Regions from separate parts of the Homo sapiens genome. Here regions 1, 2, 4, 5 and 6 are each linked to region 3. Evidence: promoter capture Hi-C in 16 types of primary human blood cells and fetal thymus (Javierre and others, 2016). All regions are on one chromosome and are shown on one strand. The core of a region is centred on a gene start or on the middle of the fragment in contact, and the rest is flanking DNA. Distances in the headings are between cores, read along the strand shown. Region 1 overlaps SIN3A (SIN3 transcription regulator family member A). Region 2 overlaps SIN3A (SIN3 transcription regulator family member A). Region 3 holds the start of PPCDC (phosphopantothenoylcysteine decarboxylase). Region 4 overlaps SIN3A (SIN3 transcription regulator family member A). Region 5 overlaps EDC3 (enhancer of mRNA decapping 3). Region 6 has its middle 16 kb from the start of COMMD4.

The links. The method cuts DNA at HindIII sites, captures the fragments that hold promoters and counts their contacts. A CHiCAGO score of 5 or more calls a contact.
Region 1: a contact is called between a fragment that was not itself captured here and the fragment with the promoter of PPCDC in region 3, in 1 of 17 cell types (neutrophils). The highest score is 6.0, in neutrophils.
Region 2: a contact is called between a fragment that was not itself captured here and the fragment with the promoter of PPCDC in region 3, in 1 of 17 cell types (neutrophils). The highest score is 8.2, in neutrophils.
Region 4: a fragment that was not itself captured here is called in contact with the fragment with the promoter of PPCDC in region 3 in 1 of 17 cell types (neutrophils); the score reaches 9.4 in neutrophils.
Region 5: a fragment that was not itself captured here is called in contact with the fragment with the promoter of PPCDC in region 3 in 1 of 17 cell types (naive B cells); the score reaches 5.1 in naive B cells.
Region 6: a fragment that was not itself captured here is called in contact with the fragment with the promoter of PPCDC in region 3 in 1 of 17 cell types (neutrophils); the score reaches 7.1 in neutrophils.

Annotation. Positions count from the first base shown.
Region 1 is chr15:75,396,612-75,400,132 of GRCh38, forward strand. It overlaps SIN3A (SIN3 transcription regulator family member A), which reads right to left. Exons shown (of 21, transcript NM_001145358.2): 12 at 3,429-3,521. Among named protein-coding and RNA genes, the nearest start is that of MAN2C1, 30 kb to the left of the region's middle. The HindIII fragment of the contact is 3,599 bases long and covers 1-3,419 here.
Region 2 is chr15:75,373,502-75,376,947 of GRCh38, forward strand. SIN3A (SIN3 transcription regulator family member A) reads right to left here. Exons shown (of 21, transcript NM_001145358.2): 20 at 2,164-2,371. Among named protein-coding and RNA genes, the nearest start is that of MAN2C1, 6.6 kb to the left of the region's middle. The HindIII fragment of the contact is 8,348 bases long and covers 1-3,446 here.
Region 3 is chr15:75,021,624-75,024,908 of GRCh38, forward strand. It overlaps PPCDC (phosphopantothenoylcysteine decarboxylase), which reads left to right and starts at 1,967. Exons shown (of 6, transcript NM_021823.5): 1 at 1,967-2,003. The HindIII fragment of the contact is 7,713 bases long and covers 1-3,285 here.
Region 4 is chr15:75,445,778-75,449,241 of GRCh38, forward strand. The region is part of intron 1 of SIN3A (SIN3 transcription regulator family member A); the gene reads right to left. Among named protein-coding and RNA genes, the nearest start is that of SIN3A, 4.2 kb to the right of the region's middle. The HindIII fragment of the contact is 2,544 bases long and covers 321-2,864 here.
Region 5 is chr15:74,630,271-74,633,535 of GRCh38, forward strand. EDC3 (enhancer of mRNA decapping 3) reads right to left here. Exons shown (of 7, transcript NM_025083.5): 7 at 288-2,676. The coding sequence ends at 2,342. Among named protein-coding and RNA genes, the nearest start is that of CLK3, 16 kb to the left of the region's middle. RefSeq lists enhancers at 1,761-1,820, 1,881-2,030. The HindIII fragment of the contact is 1,742 bases long and covers 527-2,268 here.
Region 6 is chr15:75,318,759-75,321,942 of GRCh38, forward strand. It overlaps the pseudogene ANP32BP1. Among named protein-coding and RNA genes, the nearest start is that of COMMD4, 16 kb to the right of the region's middle. The HindIII fragment of the contact is 3,837 bases long and covers 1-3,184 here.

The DNA of each region.
Region 1 (3,521 bases), core at 370-2,869, 370 kb after region 3:
CCTACTAGCTACATAAGACTGTTTCTTTATCAGCAAAATAGGGATAACAGCACCTATTACTCTCACAACCCTGTGTCTGGATTAAATGATACAATCCACATAAAGTATTTAGCACAATACCTGGCACATAAGAACCACAGGATGAAGTTGGATAAATGGTAGTTATTACCACCACCGTCGCTGCTGCCGCCACCACCACCGTGTGCTTTGCTTAGGACTACTGATTTTAGACCAGAGGAACCAAACAGGAGATGACTTTACTGAAACGTTTCCCTGAACTTTCCTGAATTGCTAAGATCCATTATGAACAAACAATAACAATCAAAACAATCCCAAAAGACCGCTTTGTCTTGAGAGTTTTTTGGTTTAACTTGAAATATTTAAATATATTCAAATACTTAAATATTCAATAGCCTTGTTCCACATCCAGTAATAATAAGAGCAGTGACTATCATAACTTAAGGAGTTCACTGTTGTAGCTGCGGGTAACCATTTAAATTCTTATTGGACTCCTGGCAACCTTTGAGTCTACTTTTTCCCTAGCTTAAAATAAGGTTCTCTAAATGAGAAACAGAAAATGAAGTAAATGAGCAGTCTCAACGGTCTACAACCAACTGTTTGCAGAAGTGTTCCCTAAGTTTTCTTGTTTTGGGAATGTGGTAGTCATTTGGTCAATATTTCTGGCCCCTCTTGCTCTCCAATTATGAACAAAAAATGGACTAAACTTCCTGGCTCCCTTATGATTGGATAGGGCCATGTAACTAGTTTTGACCAATGAGTTGTTATGAGATGAGTAGAAGTAATGTTTATTACTTCTAGGCTGCAGCATTTAAAGGTGTGAGATCATTCCAAGCTCTCTTTTCCTCCTAGTGACTAGCAACATTCATAATGGCAGCAATCCCTTGGCCTGAATCCCCAAGTAATTCTGATATGCCAAATCCCCTGCTAAACATCAATGTACATGTAGAATGATTAGAAATTAAACCCATTGGTTTTACAAGTCACTCAGATGTGGGAGTTGTCTGTACTGAGGCATTACTAACCTATCTTGATTGGTAACGCACATTCCTTCAAACTAGCTCATCCCACCAAATCTTAAACACATGCACACCCCACTTCTTTCATGTTTGCCCTTGTAGTCACAAATGGGAAATGAAGTTGCCTCTCATTTGGAGGCATACCAGCTGAGAGAGGATAGGAACACTCTGTCAAAAACAAATGCCAAGCTCTGCTAAACTCATCAGTTAACCTTACTAAACGTAAGTAACAAAGAAATGCCTTCTTTAGCTTGATAACACTCCCTATGGAAGTTAACATCTGTCTTGATTTAGCTTTCTGCAAATAGGTGCAACTCCTTATAAATGCTGGGGCAAAGATGGCCAACCACCTGCCAGTGGCCAGGCAGCATGTGGTTCTCAATTAAAAACACACCAGAAACTGCTGAACCAAGTGTGAGGCGGGAAAACTGGCAAAGAGCTAAAAGAGTACCAAAACAAACAAACAAACAAACAAAAACCAGCAAGATACCTATCCACACAAGTAAGCACAGCCAGTCAATTTAATGTAACAGATACACTAAATAGGATACGTATCATTTTACATCTTTAGACAAACCAGACTTCCCTTTTTAAAAATGATAATGTAAACCAGACATATAAACACACTGAGGATTGAGCCCACTTTCAGTAGTCCCTCTCCTGATATAGGTGGTATGGGGCCTTCTACCACCTCATTTATTCACTCCACTCTTCCCTTCCTAATTACTTCAAAATAAAGCTCCTGGGACAGGCGCAGTGGCTCACACTTGTAATCCCAGCACTTTGGAAGGCCAAGACGGGTGGGTCACTTGAGGTCAGGAGTTCAAGACCAGCCTGGTCAACATGGTGAAACCCATCTCCACTAAAAATACAAAAAAAATTAGCCGGGTGTAGCGGCATACACCTGTAGTCCCAGATACTTGGGAGGCTGAGGCAGGATAATGGCTTAAACTCGTGAGGCAGAGGTTGCAGTGAGCCGAGATCACACCACTGCACTCCAGCCTGGTTGACAGAGCAATACTCTGTCTTTAAAAAGAAAGGGGTCCCTAATTTAGCCTTCTTTCAAAAGGAGCCAATCAGGCCAGGTATGGTGGCTCATGTGTGTAATCCCAGCACTTTGGGAGGCCAGGGTGGGATGATCGCTTGGACCCAAGAGTTTGAGACCAGCCTGGGTAATGTAGTAAAACACTGTTTCTATAAAAAACAAAAAATTAGCCACAGGGGGTAGGAGGCAAGGGGAGGGAGAGCATTAGGACAAATACCTAATGCATGTGGGGCTTAAAACCTAGATGATGAGTTGATAGGTGCAGCAAACCACCAAAGCACATGTATATCTATGTAACAAACCTGCACGTTCTGCACATGTATCCCAGAATTTAAAGTTTAAAAAAAAAAAAAAAAAATTTACCCAGGCATGGTAGCACATGCCTGTAGTCCCAGCCACTCGGTGGCGGGTAGGGGTGGGGGTCTGAGGTGGGAGGATCACACTTGAGTCTGGAAGGTTGAGGCTGCAATGAACTGTGATTGTGCCACTGCACTGCAGCCTGGGCAATAGAATGAGACCCTGTCTCAAAAAAACAAAACAAAACAAAGCAATCAGCTGGGCGCAGTGGCTCACACCTGTAATCCTAGCACTTTGGGAGGCCGAGACGGGTGGATCACGAGGTCAGGAGATCGAGACCATCCTGGCTAACACGGTGAAACTCCGTCTCTAATAAAAATACAAAAAATTAGCCGGACGTGTTGGCGGGCGCCTGTAGTCCCAGCTACTCGGGAGGCTGAGGCAGGAGAATGGCATGAACCTGGGAGGCAGAGCTTGCAGTGAGCCGAGATTGCGCCACTGCACTCCAGCCTGGGAGACAGAGCGAGACTCCGTCTCAAAAAAACAAAACAAAACAAACAAACAAACAAACAAAAAACAACAAAGCAATCAATACCAGAAACATGAAAGAAAAATGCCAGTTCTCAGAGCTGGTTTGCTAACCATGGCAAGATACTTGCTAAGGGTAACAATACACACAGATCTTAAATAATTTAAAAACAGCTTCAAGAAAGTACTATAAACCTTAGGATACTGATTTTCTTCACCATGCAAAACATAATAATCTTAAAATGCCATGCAAAATCAAAAGAACTATTATTTAGTCATCAATGGACAATTTCAGTTAAAAGGGCTAAAGTGGCCTAGATAAGTCACATTTGCCATAAAGCATGTACTAATATATACATTTGACCAATGCATAAAGCATGGAAAGTACCACAACAAGCACTTACCATAGAAGAATGTGAGCCTTTGGCTCTTCCATCTTAATAACCCTCAGAGACAGGTACTGATAGTCTCACTGAGCATCTCCCATTTCCCCCAACTTCAAATGCCAAACAAGCTTGTACCTCAAAGCGTTCATCTTCACAACGATAAATATGTTCTTCATATTGAGTCTTCTTGGAACTCACAAAGGTAGAGTCCTCAGACCACGAAGGGAA
Region 2 (3,446 bases), core at 371-2,870, 350 kb after region 3:
AGATGAGAATAAGGACCCTTTATGATGAGCCACAACCACTTAATGAAGAGTAAATGTATCTTCTCTTGCTTATGACTTAACATTTTCTTTTCTCTAACTTACTTTATTGTAAGAATATACAGTATAGGCTGGGCACAGTGGCTCACGCCTGTAATCCCAGCACTTTAGGAGGCTGAAATGGGTGGGTTGTTTGAACCCTTGAGTTTGAGACCAGCCCTGGGCAACGTAAGGAGACCCCGTGTCTATTTTCATTAAAAAAAAAAAAAAGAAAGAAAAAAAGAATGCAGTATATATAATACATACAACATACAAAATATGTTGTTTATCAGTAAGCCTTCCAGTCAGTAGTAGACTATCAGTAGTTCCATTTTGGGGGAGTCAAAAATTATACACAGATTTGACTGTGCAGGGGCCAGTGCCCCAAACCCCTTGTCGTTAAAGGGTTAATTATACATTAAACTGTCTGCTCAACATCTCCCATTTGAAAGTTTTGTAGTCCTTTCAAACTTAAAACAGCACTTCATCTGTCTCCCAAACCTCATAACCCTTTCCTATTAACAGGTGAGCCCCTAAAATCTCCACTTAAGCAAAACAAAACAAACCAAAAAACCCCAAAACTAATCAGGCACCATCCTTGATGTCCTTCTTTTGCTTACCCCCACATTTGATCCAACACCATCTCTTGTCAATTAAATATCTAAATAATATCTACATCTGGGCGTGGTGGCTCACGCCTGTAATCCCAGTACTTTGGGAGGCTGAGGAGGGTGGATCACTTGAGGTCAGGTTCGAGACCAGCCTGGCCAACATGGTGAAATCCCATCTCTACTAAAAATACAAAAAATCAGCCAGGCATGGTTTGAGACACAGCGAAACTCTGTCTCAAAAATAAATGCATAAAGTCTACAATGTAATTCTTGCAATTCCACTGCCACCCTAGTAGTACGGGTGGCCCCCACATCTCATTTGGACAAGGGCACCCTTTTGAGTGGTCTCTGCTCTTCCAACTTTATATATACCCATCTCCACTGTCCTCACAGAACTCCAAGCTATCTTTGTCAAATGTCCCAGTGCATCTCAAACAAATTACAAACCATGGCCTATCATTAGACAAAGTGATGTGGCCTCTGCCTACCCTTCTAACTTCATGCAACCTTGAGCCACAATGGTGTTTGTAATTTCTTGAATATGCCAAGTCCTTTCCTCCCAGCCTTGTACTAGCTCTTTTGTCTAGAAAACACCCATCCTCTACTCTTCACCAGGCTAATTCCTTGTCATTATTCAGGCCTCAAGCATCACCTCCTTTGAGAAGCCTCCTCCAGTGAAAGCAAGGCCTGTATGCTAGTTACCCTTGATCACTTCACCTGATTTGTTTCCCTGGTAGTGCATATCATCGCATTACTTCATCTGCTCTACTTCATGGCTGTAGTCCCAGGGCCTGGCATAACACCCTATACGCAGCTGCACCAGGAAGGTTTCACAATTGAGACAGAATGTAAAGACAGGTAGGATTCATACAAGCAAAAGATCAGATACTACTTGAGATGTAAATACTGGGAGTAAATTCACCAAAAAGGTGCCACCGGGTATTTACGTGCTCTTACAGGCTGAACTGTATTCTCCTTAAAATTCTTATGTTGGCCGGGCATGGTGGCTCACGCCTGTAATGCTAGCACTTTGAGAGGCTGTGTCAGGTGAGACTCTGTCTCAAACAAACAAACAAAAAATCATACATTGAAGTCCTAGCCCCCAGTACTTCCGAATGTGACCTCATCTGGAGGCAGACACACACACACAGGTAGGAACACCATATGAAGATGAAGGCAGGGATCTACAAGCCCAGGAATGCCAAAGATTGCCAGCAAAGAACCAGAAGCTAGGAGAGGCCTAGAAGAGATTGTCCCTCACAGTCCTCAAAAGGAACCAACACTGCTGACACTTGACTTTGGACTTCTAGTCTCCACAACTTTTGTCATTTAAGCCACAGTCTGTGGTACTTTGTCACAGCATCCTTAGCAACCAACATACGTACTTCCTCAGTTAAGTCTCAGCTCCAAGAACAGGTTTGCATAAACAAAGAAAAACAATCAGAAGACTCTGGGCCTCCCCTGGTCCTAGCTAGGGTGGGAGATGTGTACAGAAATTTCAGTTACTGGTTCTCACCTGATGAGCCCGGAGCAGGGCGGTCCTCCGATACATATAGTCCTCTGATTTGATCACATACACCATCTTGTAGGAATTCAGCTTGAATCTACACTCCAGCTTATCCAGACTATCCACATTCTCCATGGTCTTCTTGCTGTTTCCTTCCTTCCCTTCCTTTTCCTGCTGCTCTCGACCACGTTGACACTTCCGGATCCGCCGTAGATTCCTATTGCAGAAAAGCCCCGGAGGATGAGAGCTCGTCCAGATGCAGATTCCCGTGACTTCCCCAAAGTGAGTTTTCTTTATTATATGCTTGCATAGTACTCATCCCAATTTGTTAAATACATACACAAATGTTCAGTTGTTTCACTGCAAAAAAAATTTCAACTGCAAAGGTACACAGAATAAAAAGCAGAAATCTTCACCCATCCCCTACTTGACTTAGCAGATGTAGCCAGTTAAGAGTTTTAATGAGAAACTTCTAGGCCTCTGTCTGTAAATTTACACATGTAATTACCAGCTACAGTTCTGCTTTGGGATTTGTTTTTAAGACAAAATAGGATCATACTATATATTTTGTCCTCAACTTTTCACTTACTGTCATGAATATTTTTTCATTTCATGATAGATTTGTCTTATTCTCTTTAACTGCTGCAGAAAAATGTACCCCAATTTACCATTCCTTAACAGTTTCTTTCAACTGAGGTTCCTCATCTGAACCACATAACAAAAATTTATTTGAATGACTATTTTTAAAAATTCCCCCAGATGATATAAACTAGTGCCATTCTACATACACAAGAAAGAAGATAATTCACATGAATGGATGCCCTGAGGGGTGGTAGGCTTGCTAAATCTCAACATCCAGTGAAAAAAGTTATCAGCTAGACAATTATATTGTTTCTCATAACTTGCTATTAAAAACACTGCTTCAGGTTGGCCACTGTGGCTCATGCCTATAATCCCAGCACTTTGGGAGGCAGGTGGATTGCTTGAGCTCAGGAGTTTGAGACTAGCCTGGGCAACATGGCAAAAACCCCTTCTCTACAAAAAAAAAAAAAAAATTAGGCAGGTGTGGTGACGTGTGCCTAGAGTCTCAGCTACTTGGGAGGCTGAGGTGGGAAGATCGTTTGAGCCCAGAAGGCGGAGGTTGCAGAAAGCCAAGATCCCACCACTGTACTATAGCCTGGGACACAGAGCCAGACACTGTCTTAAAAAAAAAAAAAAAAAAAAAAAACCAACCAGCCCAAAATATTGCTTCAGTGAGAATCTTTGTATACAAGTATTTCTGTAGACAGCAG
Region 3 (3,285 bases), core at 717-3,216:
ACGACCCTGTGTGGCTCCTTCTCTGAGGCAGCCTTCAGTAGGTGATGAAATTGCCACCTAGGCCCCCTGCCTTGGGAGGAGGAAGTAGAAGAAGCAGGCTGGATCGGCCGGGCGTGGTGGCTCACACCTGTAATCCTAGCACTTTGGGAGGCTGAGGCGGGTGGATCACGAGGTCAGGAGATCGAGACCATCCTGGCTAACACGGTGAAACCCCATCTCTACTAAAAATACAAAAAATTAGGCGGGCGAGGTGGCAGGCACCTGTAGTCCCAGCTACTCGGGAGGCTGAGGCGGGAGAATGGCGTGAACACAGGAGGCGGAGCTTGCAGTGAGCCGAGATCGCACCACTGCACTCCAGCCTGGGCGACACAGCAAGACTCCATCTCAAAAAAAAAAGACACGGCTGGATCCCTGCGTAAGGGATGGTTTGGCCCAGATGGTCCACTGCGGCTAAGGGCGGGGGTAGAGCAGAGGCCCCACCTCAGCTCAGGGCAGGGGACCCGCAGCTGGTTCAGCCACCTCAATGAATACAGAGGTTCCTGGGGCCTGTGAAGGCTAGAAAATGAAGGGGGCAGGGAAGCATGCCAGTGTGTGTTCTTCTGCCGCCTTCCCTTTGCCCATTTGATGCCTTCCACCTGGATCGCTATTGGGATCCTCTATCTAACCTCCTGGCTGTCCTTCAAGATTCATTTCAAGTCACTCCTTCAAGAAGGCTTTCCTGCCTAGAGGTGTTGCTTCCTCATGGAGGATCTTACCCTGTCATTTTCTGTGTCCCTGTTTGTCTCAAGAACAGGGACGCATCTGATTTATCTCTGTATCCTGTGCACCTAAAATAGAAGAGGCTTGGTAAATATTAAGTGCCACGAGCCCTCTTTTACTAAGGACCTGCCAACATGGGCCCCATTCACACTAATACCATGAAGATAGCCCTTTTCTATACTTCGTCATAAAAAAGTAATACACACACCCGGGCAGCAACTTCCACACAAACAACACATGTGCAAGGAGATCACCATTATTTCCAGCAAAATGCTCCCCAGGGCCGAGCGTGGTGGCTCACTCCTGTAGTCCCAGCACTTTGGGAGGCCAAGGTGGGCGGATTGTTTGAGCCTAGGAGTTTGAGACCAGCCTGGGCAATAGAGTGAGAACCCGTCTCTACAAAAAATACAAACATTAGTCTGGCATGATGGTGCACTCCTGTAGTCCTGGCTACTCCATAGGCTGAGATAGGAGGATGGCTTAAGCCCAAAAGGTGGAGGTTGCAGTGAGTGGAGATAGCACCACTGCGCACTCCAGTCTGGGTGACAGAGCCAGACCCTGTCTCAAAAAAAAAAAAAAAAACAAAAAAAAAAACAGCTCCCCAACAAGATAGCAGGCTACAACATGCATGTGATGAAGCTGATTTGAAGCGCTCAGTGAGAGGTATCTGCATCAAGTTGCAGGAGGAGAAGAGAGAAAGGAGAGATAATCATGTTCCTGAGGTCTCAGCCCTGGATCAGGAAATCATTGAAGTATTAACATATCCTGACATTAAGGAAATGCTGATGTTTTTGGACTTTGGCAGTCTGTCCAACCTGCAGGTCACTCAGCCAACAGTGGGGATGAATTTCAAAACGCCACGTGGAAGCTGTTTGAATCTTTTTGAGATACTGTAATATTTTCAATAAACCTGGGACAACAGCAAAAAAAAAAAAAAAAAAAAAAAGGCCCCAAGCAACAAGCAGTGTGTGTGGGGCTGATAGGAGTGAGGAAAGGAGGTCGGACAGTTATGCCAGCCCCTATCGAGAGTCCCAGCAATACAAAGAACAGGGCCAGGGTTTGCTCCAGGATTTCCCCAGTGGACTACAACTCCCGGAAGGCAGAGAAGTGGACTACAGCTCCCAGAAGGCTGCGCGACATACAGCCAGCCCGGTGCTCTCGTGAGGCGTGCCAGTCAGATTCCGCGGGAGAGCGGCAGAGATACCGCGATATTTGGGAGCGGCCCCGAGACGCGCCTGGCGCGGGTGAGCAGTGGAAGGGGGCTGGGAAGCTGGGTTCTCGCGGCGGCGCGGGAGGGGAGGTTCGGGGAGCTGTGTCCGCGAGCGTGGGTCCACGGCTGTCTGTGTGTGTCCTTATTTTCCCCTGTGTGCCCATGAAGCTCTGTTTGCGACTGTGCGTGGGTAGGCGGCCGTCCATCTGTGCGACCTCACTTTCCCGGCTGTACGGGTGGGGCCGCCTGGAGCAGGAGGGACCCCCGAGCCCTGAGTGGAGGGTTTGCATCTGTACCCGTCCAGCCCGACTTTGTGCTGCTCTGCGATTATTTGTCCAGTGTCGTTTAATCTAGTTTAAATGATGGCCGTGTCAGCTCCTCACACTGAACGCTTACCCGGGCTGCCCAAAGTACAAAGTGTATTTAAAAAGTTGGTAAAATTAAAAAAGGAAAGCCATGGGATGTTGGAAGTAGCCCTAGGCCTGCCAAAAAGTGCTGAGTGCTATTTAAAAATTAGGCCAAATCTTGTCAGAAAAGAACTTCCTGCTGTCCTTGAAGTATTTGGAAGCAGGTGCTAGATGGTGAGCAGGAGAGGTTGCCAAGTTGGGGAAGTGGTGGTTGTCCTGGAGCAGGGGTTTCCACATCTCTCACAGTGGCTGGGAAGTAGCAATTCGCAGTCACTGCCTTTCTAGTAGCCCACGTGTGTGAGTGTGTGTGTTAGATACATTTATCCCTCAGTATCCGCAGGGGATTGCTGTATACTTTTTTTTTTTGAGACAAGGTCTCATTCTGTGACCCAGGCTGGAGTGCAGTGGCAGGAACATGGCTCACTGCAGCCTCGACCTCCTGGGCTCAAGGGATCCTCCTGCCTCAGCCTCCTGTGTAGCTGGAACCACAGGCATAAACAACCATACCCGGCTAATTTTTATTTTATTTCATTTTTGTAGAGACAGGGTCTCACCATGTTGCCCAGGCTGGTCTCAAACTCCTGGCTCAAGCTATCCTCCTTCCTTGGCCTCTCAAAATGCTGGGATTACAGGTGTGAGCCACCACATCACCCTCCTGTATACTCTTTTTTCTTTTCTTTTTTTTTTTTTGAGTCAGGGTCTCACTCTTGTCTCCCAGGCTGGAGTGTAGTGGTGCAATCATAGCTCACTGCATCTTCGAACTCCCTGGGCTCAGATAATCCTCCCACCTCAGCCTCCCAGGTAGCTGGGACTGCAGGCACGTGCCACCACGCCCTCCATATAATTTAAATAATCTCTAGATTACTTATAAAACCTGATACAGTGTAAATGCTATGTAAATAGCTACAC
Region 4 (3,464 bases), core at 343-2,842, 420 kb after region 3:
GAAAGAAAGAAAAGAAAATAGAGCATTACAAAGAATAGAACTTGAGATAGTTCTTGAAAGGACAGGTGGAAGTGTCACTCACATCTCACACTGCTTTTATCACATTAGCTCTTCTGCTCCCACACAAACATGGGCACATAACATCTTTAACCATCTATGTATCCTCTACCATGCTCAGCATACTGCTTTGTCTTGTCTGTGGTGGAAACCAAATCATTCATTCATGTATACATTCTCTAATATCTACTGAGCACATACTATGCACCAGGTGTTTTAGGAGCTGGAGATACAACGGTAAACAAAAATCTCTTCCCTCAAGAAGCTTATATTTTAGTGAAAGATGACACAATAGACAAAGTATAATATTTAGAATAGTAGGCAGTGACAGGTATCAAGAACAAAAGGCAAGGAAGAGTTTTTGAAATTGTAGATAAGAATGGTCAGATAATACCTACTGATAAGGTAACTTCTGAGTAAAGGAAGTGAGGGAGCTAGTCATGCAGAAATTAGTGGAGGAAGCCTTCTAGGCAGAGGGGACAGCAACCGCAAAGACCCTCATGTCTTTGTGAGGGCTCACATGTGCTTGACATGTTCCAAAACAGCATGAAGGCTGGGTAGCTGAAGAAAAACGAAAGAAGGACTAGTCAGAAATGTAGTCAGAGAGGTACTAGGATAAGGGTGGCAGGCAGAGGGTACATCAGATTTGTTCTTACAGGTGTTTTTTTATTTTTTGACACAGGGTCTCATTTTGTCGTCAAGGCTGGGGTGCAGTGGCACAGTCATGGCTCACTGCAGCCTCAAGCTCCTGAGCTCAAGCAATCCTCCTGCCTCAGCCTCTCAAGTAACTGGGACTACAGGCACGCGCCAGCATGCTTGGCTAATTTTTAATTTTTTTATAGAGACAGGGTCTTGTTATGATGCCCAAGCTGGTCTCAAACTCCTGGACTCAAACGATCCTCCCACTTGAGCTCCCAAAATGGTGAAATTACAGACATATCCTTTTTTTTTTCTTTTGAGACAGTCTCGCTCTGTCGCCCAGGCTAGAGTGCAGTGGCACGATCTTGGCTCACTGCAAGCTCCACCTCCCGGGTTCACACCATTCTCCTGCCTCAACCTCCCGAGTAGCTGGGACTACAGGTGCGTGTGCCACCATGCCCGGCTAACTCTTTTGTATTTTTTTTAGTGGAGACCATGTTAGCCAGGATGGTCTCAATCTCCTGACCTCGTGATCCGCCTGCCTCAGCCTCCCAAAGTGCTGGTATTACAGGCATGGGCCACCGCGCCCAGCTCATTACAGACATATCTAAATAAGGACTCAGGTTTAATACTCAGACTGAAATGGAAAGCCACTGGATGGTTTTAAGCAGAGAAGTGACACGGTATGACTTAGGTTTCAAAAGAATCACTTGGGTTGCTATGTTGAGAACACATTTAAGAGCCGCAGTAACAAAACAAGGAGAATAGAATCCAAGCTAGAGATGCACAGGCACTGACTAGGGCAGTGGAGATGCAGATCCTAAGTGGTCTAATTCTGGATAGTATTTTGAATATAAAGCAGTAAAATTTACTGATGGACCACATATGAAAAAGACACAGAAGAGTCAACAATGTCTCTTAGTTATCCAAGAGGAGACATCGAGTGGAGACCTTGAGTGGGCCACTAAACATATTAGTCTATGGTAGAGGGAGAGATCCCCGTTAGAGTCATCAGCATTGTTTGGATTTTAGAAAGGTAATATGGTACATATACTGTATCATCTCTCTCTCCCAGCTAGGGCTGAGTAGCTCCCCATAATCAAGCAGTCACATTTCTGCATCATGCAGGATAGCCCAGGTCAGGCTGTACCCCAAAACTAGTTGTGGAACTAGACTTACCAAAAAACAAAAACTCTTGCATTTCAGAACTGCAAATAAAGGATGTGGACCTGCATATCCTCCAATAGCCCATATGTCAGCAAGCCTAGCCCTGGAGGACACCAAGAAGACTCATGAAGGGTCCACTGTCATGCTGAGAAATATGGGTAACATACAAGCATACAAGACAAAAAGTGGGTAGGGAAAACAAAAGCAAAAGGGGCAAATAAGAAATACATCAGGTAGAAATTGCCACCCATGACCGGGCACGGTGACTCACGTCTTAATCCTAGCACTTTTGAGAGGCTGAGGCAGAAGGACCTCTTGAGCCCAGGAGTTCGAGACCAGCCTGGGCAACACAGCAGGACTTCACCTCTATAAAAATATAAAAAAAATTAGCCAGGTGCGTGGTGGCACACACCTGTAGTCCCAGCTACATGGGAGGCTAAGGTAGGAGGGTCGCTTAAGTCCAGAAGATCAACACTGCAGTGAGCTGTGATCATGCCACTGCACTCCAGCCTGGTGACAGAGCGAGACTTCGTCTAAAAAAAAAAAAAAAAAGACATGAGAAAAAAAGACATTATGCGGCCGGGTGCAGTGGATCATGCCTGTAATCCCAGTACTTTGGGAGGCTGAGGCGGGCGGATCACGAGGTCAGGAGTCTGCGACCAACCTGATCAACATGGTGAAACCCTGCCTCTACCAAAAGTACAAAACTTAGCCAGGCGTGTGGTGGCGCCCCAGCTTCTTCTTCGTGGAGGCTGAGGCAGGACAATCGCTAGAACCCGGGAGGCGGAAGTTGCAGTGAGCTGAGATTGCACCACTGCACTCCAGCCTGGGAGACAGAGCAGGACTCCATCTCAAAAAAAAAAAAAAGTCTAGTGCCTAACACAGTATCTGTGACACAGTAAGTGCTCAATAAATATCAGCTTTTATTTTTCAAGGGGCGAGGAAGGTGTATTTTGAAAAAGCATATACTATTTATTTTTTTAAAGGCCTACAGAAAGTAAAGCTTAACAAACTCTTGGCTGGTGGATTGCCCAGAAAAGAGAGAAAGCCATGAAAAGCACTATGCTAAACTACTGAATGCCAGGGATATAACCTCTTAATTCCAGTTAAAATTCCCAGGTACTAACATCTGCCATGCACAGCTCTCCAGTGTCTTGTCTGCTCCCACTGAAGATGTAAAAAGAATTATACTTCACCAGGAATCTTGTCAAATTACTACACACCTCCTTCCTTAAAAAAGAAAAAAAGTCTTTCTCTGTATGTAAATTATTAAAACCCTCTTAATTACGAAGTGCCAATCTTTCTAAGCTATTTATCTCTGAACAAAATTATAGTATATAAAATAATTATCTGGAGATTATGAAGCATTTATGAAAATGTTCCTAATACAGCAAAACCAGGTTCTTACTTGAATCCTTATAGACTCTTCTGTGTTCCCCAGTATACAGCACTGCAAATCATGGGAACTATATATGTAGCCCAAATTTTCCTCAATGGTCAATCGTTCTCCACTATCTCTCTCAGTTTATGGCATCAGAAAAAACCACCTGGATTTTTTGTCTCCCCACCAATTCTATTACAGCCATCATTTGCTAAACTAA
Region 5 (3,265 bases), core at 148-2,647, 390 kb before region 3:
GGACATCCTCTGGGCCCAGGCTGCTGAGCAGTCCTAGATGGCACCTCTGCCCTGCTGGCTTCTGTACCTCTCAGCCCCAGAGAACCTAAGGGAATCAGCCCACCGTGGCTAGCCAGGTGGGGTCTGGTTTTCCACAGCCTGCCAGTCCCATTACTGGCCAGGACTTTAGGCTGTATGTGCCCAACAACTATGGCCTGCTGAGGGCAGGAGACGAGTGGGGCGGGTTCCTAGGCTGGGACAGACAGCACCTCATGACAGCCTACAGAGCAAGTCACACGGCACAGGACTCAGTCAGTCATTCAGCTTTATTTCAGTGCTGGTTTTTGGTTCCCTAAGAGCTGCATGAGTGCTAGGCTTCACCACGTGACTGGGGGCCCCTTGGGAACTGGGTACTATGGGCAGGATGCCCCTGAAAAGAACTGAAGACAGAGGAATCATACTTCTCTTTAATACCTCTGGGGAAGGCCCAGGCTAAGGATGAGGGCAGGGACCAGTCCCAGTGCCCCCTGGGGAGAGAAGAGGGAGAAGCTTGGGCACAAACTCCCAGTGGCCCTGCAAGGCTATCATCCCTGGATCTTGCTGGAGTGGACAGTCTTCTGGGCCAGGGTTGTTCTAGCTTGTTTCTCACTGTACCTAATCAGGGGGCCTAACTGCATTAACAGGCAGCCAGAACCTACCTACCAAAAAGCCTGTAACCTAGACTGCTCCTCAGATTTTGGCCAAGAGAGGGCCCCGGCTTGGGAGCTGCTTGGCCCTGAGAGTGAGCAGAGGCTCAGAGAATACACAGCACAAGGGTTACAGTCCCTGGCCTCTTCCCATCGCTGGAGACAATTTAAGACTGAAGGGAAGATGAGAGGAGGGGCCAGCCCTCTACCCTGGCTCATCTGCTTCTGGCTATGTTCCTACAAGGGAAGTGATAACAGCCTGAAACCCGTGGTACCAGGGCCTACCCTATGTCCACAATCCTTGGTGAGCCCTTCTGTCCACCCATCCACCCGCTCAGCCAGCCTGGGCAGACACAGAGCAGAAGCAGCCTGAAGCCCTGAAGCAGGCTTAAACACAAGTCCTTGACAGGAATCCCTGCCAGGATTCCAGGCATAGATCCTGTTCTACCAGCCTCCAGGGCCTAGAGCTTGGCACCTTAGGATTTGAGCATCAGTGTGTTCCTATGGTTGGAACCCACACCAGCTAGCTCATCCAGAACTAGCCTCATTTTGCCATCTTTGAGACAGGGTGCTGGCCCCAAGCCTACTCATCTAGACTGGACAAATGTAAAAGGTTCAAAGCCCAGATGATGTAAGAGCTGGGGTGGAGCTCAAGCACGGGAGCCCATCTGCCTGCTCTGGGATGACAGCTGCAAAGGACCGTTTCAGGGGAAGGGCAGAGGGGATGAAAGAGTAGGTGGGGCATGTATGTGCGGGCAAAGGGCTGGAGGAGTGGTGGCCTAGGACAGAAGCACCAGGAAGCCTCTTCTGGTTCAGCACCAGGCTCCCCCAGGGATATCCCCATCTGAGGGGTCTGGCCCCAGACTAGGCAAAGGCTCAACCTGCTCAGCTTTGAGGGTGGGGGCGGGCACTGCTGGCAAGATGGGCACTGTGGTTCTACAGTAATATAACCTTATACTACCTGTGCTGAAGACGACAGAACAACATAAAATCCCAATACAGTAACACCATCCTAATGCCGCCCCCTTCCCTACCTCTGAGTGATGGAGGGAAAAGGAGGGAGAGATCCTTGGAAAAATCAGCATAAAACTTGGATCAGCTCAGGAGTAAGGGTCAAAACCCCCCAAATCAACTTGTGGGGCTAGGGGAAGGCCTGGTCTGTCACAGCCCTGGACATGAATGGAGAGTGCAGGTCTGCCCTCTGGTGGACAGCTGCCGTGCAGCTGGTTCTACAGAGGAAGGGCTGTCTGCGTGGGGAAAGCAGGGGAGACACAAAGCCACAAGCTCTGAAATAGAGCAGGTACAGGCCCCCAGACAGGACCTGGCCCACTCTTCAATGTGTGTGCCCAGGCCCAGTGGCTGTAAACCTGAAACACAGTCTTGAGAGCTGCCTACGGCTGTAAACAAAGGCCCACCTGGCCGTGCAGGGGGCTGAGGGTAGAGATGCCTGGAGTTGCTGCACGCTCAGCCTGCCACCCAGCCCGGAACCCAGTGGGAAAGACTTCCCTGGCTAAGAGCAAGTGACAGGTCAGTTTTAAGTAAGTTCTGTTCTCTCACAGAAGAAACAAACCCAAAAGAGAAAAAACTTTAACAAGGTCCATGAAGCTTCATATCCTTAAGGCGTTTGTTATCAGGAGCAGCAGGGGACAGCAGAGTCCTGCCTGCGCAGGAACCCTCTAAGCAGAGTGCAGTGGGATAACAAACTTGCAGCCAAAGGGCGAGTGGTAGTTGATGCCCACCTCCTGGAAGACCTGCTGGGGAATGCCAATGTCGCACAAATAGATACGGCCTGCGTGCTCCCCCAGTGGCAGAGGCAGGCCCAGTGCCAGTGACCATTTGGCATCAATGCCCTGTTCGACTTCATGCACAGGAGGGTCTATGCTGAGTACTGGTGCCCGGTTCTGGTTGGCCCAGGCCACAGCTGCCTTGTACCAGGGTTGATCGCGCAGGAAGACGTTCTCAGGGCAATCCAGGCAGTTGATGACCAGGTCCACAGGGCTAGTGGGCAGATCTGCAGGTGGAAAGAGTGCCATCTGAAAGTCCCTATGAGCAGAGAGCAGCCCAGGCTGGGACTAGGGCCCAGGTCACCCCAAGGGTGTCTTTGTTTTCCAGACACCACTCGAATGCCTCTCCAAAGGCTGGCCTTCTTAAAGCTGGGCCAGGGCACAGGCCCTAGGAGTTGCAAGCTGGCTGGGCTGAGTGCTAGAGACCAAGTGCATGTCAGCCCAGCAGACCACTGCCCTCCTGGAGTTCTCAGGATGAACCATTGTCGTCCTGAGTGTGCAGAGCTTCTCAGGGCACAAAGCCCTCACCTCCTCTGCCTTCTCAGGCATGCCTCTGTATATCCAACTAATGCCCTGGGCACCTTATGACCTCTGGGAAGGCAGAGTCCACTGTCAAGGTGGCCATCACAGGGAAACCCCACTCAGGTCCAGCAAAAACAGGAGCTGACTGCTATCTGCTGACCCAAGAAGGGTGAGCAGGTGAGAGCATGCTTATTCTATTCCAGCTGGCCTACTCATTCTACTCTAGCAAGCCTGTCCCCTCTCGTACTCATTATCTCACAGGAATGGGTCCTCCACTCAGCCCAACCTTAATTA
Region 6 (3,184 bases), core at 323-2,822, 300 kb after region 3:
TGTAAGTGCTTCCGGCAGTAAACCGAGGACACTGTAGGGTTCACCTTCTTTTAGGGATCATAGTTCTGCTCGACCTGTTCTCTGATGTCTGAAAACTATCGTTTTATATATGTTGTTCCATTTTTCTAGTTGTTCAAGGTGGGAGGCAAATCTGGTCCCTGTTAGCAATCGTGGCCACATGTAGAGGTTGCAGGATGTTGTTTACGTCTGTATCTTTTTTTTTTTTTTTTGAGACAGGCTCTCACTCTGTCGCCCCAAGTGGTGCCCTCTTGCCTCACTGCCACCTTCACTTTGTGGCCTCAAGCGATCCTCCCACCCCAGCCTCCCAAGGTGCTGGGATTACAGGTGTGAGCCACTGCACCCGGCCTAAAATTGTATCTTTCTTATTATCAGTGAAGTTAAACATTTTTTCCTGTGTGTCAGCGGCATTTGGGTTTCTTTTTCTTTGAACTTTCATATTTTTTTTTCCATTTTTCTTAGAATTTTTGGTCTTTGTCTTCTCTACTTTTAGAATAGAATGAATATGATATTAATCATACTTCGAATTGTGACCATGATAGAGTACCTGTATTGATGATGGTCTCCCAGCATAAACAACTACAAAGCTGGACAAAGTACATGAAGAAATTGTCTTCAGGCATTGGGCAATAGGCAGTTCCATGTACAATCTGAGAGAAGGGAATCACATGAAGTGACTGCTACATTTTTCTGGTGGGGAAAGTTTCTAAACCCTCAATGACAGCACGAGGAAGCAGAGTCCAAGCCAAGAGGATCAGTCTTGTTTGGTGAAGGAAACAGAGACTGGTGCTCAGGGCTGCTAAAATGTGTGTGGCAGAGTATCAGAAAGGACGGAGTTGCAGAGGAGAAGCCCCAGAAATCTTACAGAGGTTGCTGCAGGTCCTTGGCCAAATCCCAAACAATGAGTGTGCAGATTGAGGCTCTGCAAGGCCCAGCACAGAACAGCCGATGGGGAGCTGAAAGCTAAACAGCGATTTCAGTCACAGACTGCTGGAGATACATCTGAATTCTGGCTCAGCCAGAGTCTCCACTCTTGGAATCTCAGATCTTGATGAATATTCCAGACATTCACAGAGGGCCTAGAAGGCCATGCCTTGGGATTAAGGAAGATTCCCTGGGAATAAGGGCAAAACTGAAAAACAGGTCACCCTAACAAAGCCTAAAATGTACCCTTGACACACATGATCAAGTTAACCCACGAGTAATTTAATTCCCTGCCAAAATAAAACTCAACACTAGAGTAGGATAACATAACCCACATCTCTACAATGAAGGTTCACAACGTCCAACAGCTCAAGAAATACTAGATGTGTGAAAAAAGTGAGAAAATATATCCTAAAATTAAGAGAAACCCAGTCAATATGAACAGACCCACTGTGCATGGTGGCTCACGCCTGTAATCCCAGCACTTTGGGAGGCCAAGGCAAGTAGATCACTTGAGCTCAAGACTTCGAGACCAGCCTGGGCAACATGGCATAACCCCATCTCTACTAAAAATTCAGAAACGAGTTGGGTATGGTGGTGTGCAGGGGCCCATAACCCCCAGGCTGTGGACTGTACCCGTAGGTAACCTGGTAGGAACCAGGCTGCGCAGCAGGAGGTGAGTGGTGGACAGCGAGCATTACTGCCTGAGCTCCACCCGCCGTCAGATCAGCAGGCATTAGATTCTCATAGAAGCGTGAACCCTAATGTGAACTGCACATGCGAGGGATCTAAGTTTCACACTCTTTATGAGAATCTAATGCCTGATGATCTGAAGTGGAACAGTTTCATACCATAACCACCACCCCCAACCCCGTCTGTGGAAAAATTGTCTTCCACGAAACCAGCCAGGACTGCTGGTGGCACGTGCCTGTGGTCCCAGCTACTTGGAAGGCTGAGGTGGAAGGATGGCTTGAGCCTGGGAGGTGGAGGTTGCAGTGAGTTGAGATCATGCCGCTGCACTCCAGCCTGGACAACAGAGTGAGAACTTATCTCAAAGAAACAACAACAAAAAAAGGGCCAGGCATGGTGGCTCACACTTGTACTCCCAGCACTTTGGGAGGCTGAGGCAGGCAGATCACCAGGAATTCAAGACCAGCCAGATGAGGTGGAGGTTGGAGTGAGCCGAGATGGTGCCATTGCACTCCAGCCTGGGCTACAAGAGCAAAATTCTATCACACACACACACAAAAAAAAAGAGAGAAAGCAGACCCATAAATGGCTCACACATTGGAATTAGCAGGCAAGAGCTTTAAAGTAACTACATACATACATTAAAGAATTTAGAGAAATATCAACACCTGTGAAGATGGTGAAAAAAAAATTTAGAGAAATAAGTTTTAGTATAAGTATGTCCTAAATATGCATGGTACATACTTACTAAAAAATAGTTTATTTTTTATCAGAAATCTAAATTCAACTGGGTGTTCTATATCTTATCTGGCATCTCTACCCCAAAGCCAAGCAGGAGAGAATCCACAGTCTTATCTTCCAGCAGGTGACCTAGCCTAGGACAGGGCCTGGCCAGGGGCAATTGTGAATTGGATGGATTAGAGATGCCAGTCATTCAGTGTGTCAAAGGTTTGCCAGACCTGCATACAATCAACATTATTATTATTATTGTTATTTTAATGTTAAGATTTTATTTACAAAGATTTTTGTTGTACAGAAAGTAAAAATGCTGTTACAGTCCCAGTGTAACTGGTAGCCACAGATGGTTGACTCACCAATCACAGCTATCTACGCTACAGCAAGAGTCTCACACAAAAACCTAACAACACTTACAATTTTGTTGGGGTGAAGTCCCTAAGCTCGATGGTAGATTGGTAGATTACCAAGAGGGACTACATGGAGGAAGACGGAATGTCACAGGAACTATTCTTTGGCTCTTTGGGTGGGTGGGTGTCCTGGGGTTTGTATCAGCTACCTTTTTTTTTTTTTTTTTAACAGCTACCAAATCCATGAGCAGTCCAACCGATACTAAACAGTTCTGTTTCTGCAGGTCATCTGGGGTCTTAATCATCTTCTCCTTCATCATCCGTTTCTCTCTTCCTCTTTTTACCTTTCCTGCCTTCTTCCTCCTCCTTCATCCTCATCCTCATCTTCATCTTCTTCAAGTCCAAATTCTTCTTCCTCCTCACTGACTTCATCTTCGTCATCTCCTTCTACATTTTCATCTTCTTCA